2 separate regions of the Homo sapiens genome follow, and region 1 is linked to region 2. The links are contacts of gene promoters, found by promoter capture Hi-C in human tissues and cell types (Jung and others, 2019). All regions are on one chromosome and are shown on one strand. The core of a region is centred on a gene start or on the middle of the fragment in contact, and the rest is flanking DNA. Distances in the headings are between cores, read along the strand shown.

Evidence for each region. The method cuts DNA at HindIII sites, captures the fragments that hold promoters and counts their contacts. A contact is called where the count stands out against the background at its distance.
Region 1: a contact is called between a fragment that was not itself captured here and the fragment with the promoter of FBXO4 in region 2, in 1 of the 25 tissues and cell types used here (heart left ventricle).

What each region holds. Positions count from the first base shown.
Region 1 is chr5:42,417,836-42,420,856 of GRCh38, forward strand. No RefSeq gene overlaps it. Among named protein-coding and RNA genes, the nearest start is that of GHR, 4.1 kb to the right of the region's middle. The HindIII fragment of the contact is 4,187 bases long and covers 1-3,021 here.
Region 2 is chr5:41,923,879-41,926,695 of GRCh38, forward strand. It overlaps FBXO4 (F-box protein 4), which reads left to right and starts at 1,403. Exons shown (of 7, transcript NM_012176.3): 1 at 1,403-1,620. The coding sequence starts at 1,432. RefSeq lists a silencer at 1,661-1,840. The HindIII fragment of the contact is 11,897 bases long and covers 1-2,817 here.

The DNA of each region.
Region 1 (3,021 bases), core at 192-2,691, 490 kb after region 2:
CCCTACTGGGAGGTGTCTCCCAGTTAGGCTACACGGGGGTCAGGGACCCACTTGAGGAGGCAGTCTGTCCTTTCTCAGAGTTCAAACACCATGCTGGGAGAACCACTGCTCTCTTCAGAGCTGTCAGACAGGGCCATTTAAGTCTGCAGAAGTTTCTGCTGCCTTTTGTTCAGCTATGCCCTGCCCCCAGAGTTGGAGTCTACAGAGGCAAGCAGGCCTCGTTGAGCTGCGGTGGGCTCCACCCAGTTCAAGCTTCCCAGCCACTTTCTTTACCTACTCAAGCCTCAGCAATGGCTGACGTCTCTCCTCCAGCCAGGCTACCACCTCGTAGTTTGATGTTGGACTGCTGCACTAGCAGTGAGCAAGGCTCTGTGGGTGTGGGACCTGCTGAGCCAGGCACAGGAAGGAACTTCCTCGTCTGCTGGTTGTGAAAACTGAGGGAAAAGTGAAGTATTTGGGCAGAAGTGTACCATTCCTCCAGGTACAGACTGTCACTGCTTCCCTTGGCTAAGAAAGGGAAATTCCCCAACCCCTTGCTCTTCCCGGGTGAAGCGACGCCCCACCCTGCTTCAGCTTATTCTCTCTGGGCTGCACCCACTGTCCAACCAGTCCCAATGAGATGAACCAGGTACCTCAGTTGGAAATGCAGAAATCACCCGTCTTCTGCATCAGTCACGCTGGGAGCTGCTGATGAGAGCTGTTCCTATTTGGCCATCTTAGGTTGTTTTCCAATAAATGGCAATTTTAAGCTTTCACCTGGCTCTGGGACCTCCTCATAAATTTTGGCTAAGAATACCCAGATCATGAAATAACATTTTCCCTGTTACCTTCCAATATAGGGGGAAAGCAATAAATACTTCCCTAAGTCATTTTTTTCTCTTCATGATTCCCTTGCCATCCTCACCCAAGGCAGTTGTGGGATGGAACTAGGGGACTAAGATAAAGAGAGTACCCTAGTCAAAGAGCTCTCACAGTGTGCTCACAAGCATCACATGCTCAATTCCATGATATGCTGAGTCCTGGGCAAGGAAGGAATTCTCAGCACTCTTGTACCTGCTACCTGACATTCTTGAGCCTCTTACCCTGCTATGGTTTTCTTTAATCAGCACTTCAGTGATTTACTTATTATGTTTATTGTTCATTGTCTCTCCTAACTAGAATGCAAGCCCCATGAGGGCAGCATCTTTGTAGATATGTGGTATAAATTTTGTTCCCTGATGCATGCTAAGTTTTTAGAACGAAGTCTGTCATAGTGTAGGCTCACCAACATTTGTATGAATGAAAGAACATGGTGAATGGGAATTCAGTGTTAGTTTAAAAAAAATTCATTAAAGGGATAATATTTTATTAGAATCTTATTAATTTTACCAGTAAATATTGTATTAATCAGGGAGATATATATATATATATATGTCATATTCATGAGATATATATATATATATATATGTCATATTCATGAGATATATATACAGAGACTTATTTTGAGAAATTTGCTCACATAATTGTGAAAACTGAAAAGTCAAAAATCTACAGGGTAAATTGGTTACAGATTTAGGGAATAGTTGATATGCAGTTTGAATCCAAAGGCTGCCTGCTGACAGAATTTTCTCTTCTTTGGGATAGGTCAGTTTTTTTCTCTTAATGCCTTCAACTGATCGATTGAGGCCCACCTACATTATGTAGAGCAATATGATTTACTCAAAGTCTATTGATTTAAATGTTAATCTTACCATAAAAATGCCTTTGCCAAAAAAATCTAAAATAATATTTGACCAAATATCTGGGTACCATGGTCTAGCAAAATTGACACATAAAATTAACCATCTCAATGTGTCAACTTTGCTAGGGCATGGTACCCGGACATTTGGTCAAATATTATTCAAATAAATTTAGAATTTATCACAAATGTTTGATATCATAATTTGATTTACAAATATCAATCTAATACTTTATTTTACAGCTGAATGATCTCAGAGAGCAACCCCTTCCTTCTATAGGCCAAGAAATGGAGTCATTGTGAGATTAGTAACTAATTTACCCAAAATCACAGAGGACCCACACAGGATCCCAAGGCTCCTGACTAACAATCCTATGTTCTTCAACTACAAATGCTATAAAACAAAACAGCTATAAAATGCTACTTTAAGTGTTTTGGCCTCTTTTGTTTTGTTTTGAGAAGAAGCTTTGGCATTTTATAGTACAACAGAGTGACTAAAGCCATGCTCTAACCTCAGATAACTGTAGATTTAGGAAGTTTATACTGTGGTGTTTTATGGTTTGGGGAGATGGCGATCTGACCTAGATATCTGCACTTGAATATATATAATCAGAATTATTTTCTAATTGTTTCTATTGTCTTCAAGGCAGTTTATATTTTTTGCTAAGCCCTACTGGGGATGTATAAAAGACTGGGGAAGGGTGGGCCATAATAAGGTAAGGCCATAATAAGGTAAAATAGGTTGGACAAGATAAGTTAGCCAATATCTGAGTAAAGACTTCAAGGAACTGTAGGAGGAAGCAAATGAATATTTGTGGAAGTGTGTTTAAATCAGAGAGAAAAGCCAGCAAAAAGCCTTCAAGTTAGGAGTCTGCCTGGCCTGCTTAAGAAACAGCAGGGAGGCCGGTGTGCTGGGAGCAGAATGGATGACCCAGTGATGGGGAAATTCATGGGAGATGAGGTGTGGGGCAAAGGTACATAGCTCACGTAGGGTCTCATGGGCCATTTTGAATTTTATTCTGATTTGAATGGGGAACCATTGGAGGGTTTTGAGCTGAGGAATGACATGATATTAATTTTAAAAGGAATGACTATGGCAACTGAATTTATACTTTGGGTTGTTGTTGGTGTTGGTTGGGGATTAGGGGTGGGGTTTGTCAAAGCAAGCAGACCAGTTGAGTTGAGAGACTACTGCAGTAATCTGAGAAATTCTGGTGGTTCAGACCAGGTGTCTCTGGACCTCTCCAAGAAAATAGACAGAGTTTTGAATGTGGAATGTGATTGGCAGAGAAGAAGTAAGGATG
Region 2 (2,817 bases), core at 153-2,652:
AAAAATTATTTTCAAAGCAGATGGGGAAGTTAAACACTGACTCGGTATTTGGTGATTTTAATGAATTAAAATTGCTTAGGTACAGTGGTCTGTTTCTTAAAATCTGTTTTTTTTAGGGACGGATACTGAGATATTTACAGATGATAGGTCTGGGATTTGTTTCAAAAGGATCCAGAATTGGGGGTGTAGTATTAGGTGAGTATAGCAACAGCACAAGATTAACCAGGTGTTGGTAATGGAATCTTGGATACTGGGCACACAGGAGCATATTATTCACTCTCCTTTTATAAATGTTCAAAATTTTCCGTAATAAAGTTTTTCTCATTCATTTAACAGATATCATTTTAATACTTTATACTTGAACTGATTTTTTTTCTTGCTCTAGTTCGTTTTTTGCTCTCAAAGTAAATCGTGTCCTAGAAAGTGATGAGAAATGCCATATGGTTAATCCGTGGTCCTTGTCCAGATTGCCTCCCAAAAACGAGGCTGCAATTTTATTGGTTATTGGCCCCTACCAACAACATGCAAATAATAAAATGTAATGAAACTTAAACTTGTATGTTACAGAGCCTTGCAGAACCTTAGTTATCAGGCTTTCTTGGATTCTGTTGACATTTAGATCCTCAGAGATTTACTTTTTGAATGTATACATACCCAGTTCTATGTAACAGATTAACTTGTAATACGTTCTCTTAAAGCACTTTTAAAGTAAGCCCAAAGTAAGTAGAATGGGCATCTGGTTTGAGAATTAAAAAACTCACTAGTGGGATTTCAACACCACCACATCTGGGTTCTTCTAGCCGTTTTTTGCCGCCCTTGCAAATTTTAAATGTGCTTATATTTTTGCATAGTGGGTCCAGACTTCTCATTTTGGCAAAAGGTTCTTTGTAATTGGCCCGCTGACTGCCTCTCTAGTCTGTTTTTGCTGATACTCAAGAAAATAAATGGTAACTTGGTGATTGAGGAAATAACACACACAAAAAACACCCCATACGTAGTATGGTAGTGCTGAAAAGGAAGCAAGTGGTTATTAAGCCCAAGACAGTGGCAGAGGTCTATCGAACAAGCGGAGTCGCCTAGGACCAGGCATAGTGGAAATGATCCCGGAGAGAACATCTTGAATGAAGCCAGGAAGTCAGCGGGCCAGAGGTTGTACAGGGGCTCTGCGGTTGGCGTGGCTGAGGTTGAGGCCACAAGTTACTGGGGAAGTTAATTGTTGACAGGAGCTTCGTACTCGGCTCACAGCCACGCACAGTGGGCTTCCTCCCAGTACCCGCCCTTGCCCCTGGGCCTAACCCTGCCCTGGAGGCGGACTCGCGGGAGAAGCGGGAGGCGGAACGCCCGAGGGCGCCCTCGGCTGGCGCGGAGCTGCGCAGGAGGCTGACGCGCTAGCGTGGCTCTAAGACGCGTCACCCACGCTGCGGGCAAGCCATGGCGGGAAGCGAGCCGCGCAGCGGAACAAACTCGCCGCCGCCGCCCTTCAGCGACTGGGGCCGCCTGGAGGCGGCCATCCTCAGCGGCTGGAAGACCTTCTGGCAGTCAGTGAGCAAGGAGAGGGTGGCGCGTACGACCTCACGGGAGGAGGTGGATGAGGCGGCCAGCACCCTGACGCGGCTGCCGGTGAGCGTCGGCCGCAGGCCGCGGAGGACAGTGGGGCCGGCCCGGGCCGGAGGGACCTCCCCTGGAGCCCCCCGGGGCCTGGGGAACTCTCGCGCCCCGGCCTGGGTCTGGCTCCGTCCATGCAGCCATTCCTGGCAGTGTAGTCACCGAGAAGCTACAGTTGATCAGAAGCGTCTTGGCGTGGACCCTGGTGCTCCGCAGGGGGCCCGAACATCTCAGGGAAGCACCTTCATGGGGCCCCTGGGGACCCTCCCGATCGCCCTCAGGTTTTCCACCCGCCAAAACAGGCACATGTGACTAGGACACCCTGAATGTCCGGTTACGGAAATGAGACAGTTCCCAACTTGCTGATTAGCTTGGGAAAGCATTCCAGCGTCCCTGTTCCCAGCGTCTTTGATTCCGGATCACTGTACCAAAACACTTGGAGGGCCAAGGTTTTTACCCTCTCAAGAGGACATTGTGCCTGTGGCTGTTATTGTGTATTTGAAGAAACAAAACGGCCCCTCAGTTGAAAATAAATGACTTAAGTTACAAGTGCCTCAAGTTACATCAAGGCCACGAGAATGACACACATAACTTATTGTTAAACTTTGGGGTAGATAGGTAAATGAAGAGAACAAAAATTATTGAAAATTATTACAATTCTTTGTCTCATTTGGACTATTGACACCTCTCTCCAATGTGTATATCAACGTGAAAGCTGCAGGTTTAGAATGCCTCCAAGTTTCTCCTTGCAGAGGTTTTTCATAACATTTTAATAGATTCTGTAGAGGAACTAAGATGACAAATTTACGGCCGGGCGCGGTGGCTCACGCCTGTAATCCCAGCACTTTGGGAGACCCAGGTGGGCGGATCACGAGGTCAGGAGATCAAGACCATCCTGGCTAACACGGTGAAACCCCGTCTCTACTAAAAATATAAAAAATTAGCCGGGCTTGGTGGCAGGCGCCTGTAGTCCCAGCTACTTGGGAGGCTGAGGCAGGAGCATGGCGTGAACCTGGGAGACGGAGCTTGCAGTGAGCCGAGATCTTGCCACTGCACTCCAGCCTGGGCGACAGAGCGAGACTGTGTCTCAAAAAAGAAAAAGACAAATGTACACTCTTTGATTTGGTCTGATGATAAAATCAGATAAAGGTTGATATGGGTTTTATTTTGAAGGACAAATTATTTCCTTAACTAATTTATGTAACTAACTGG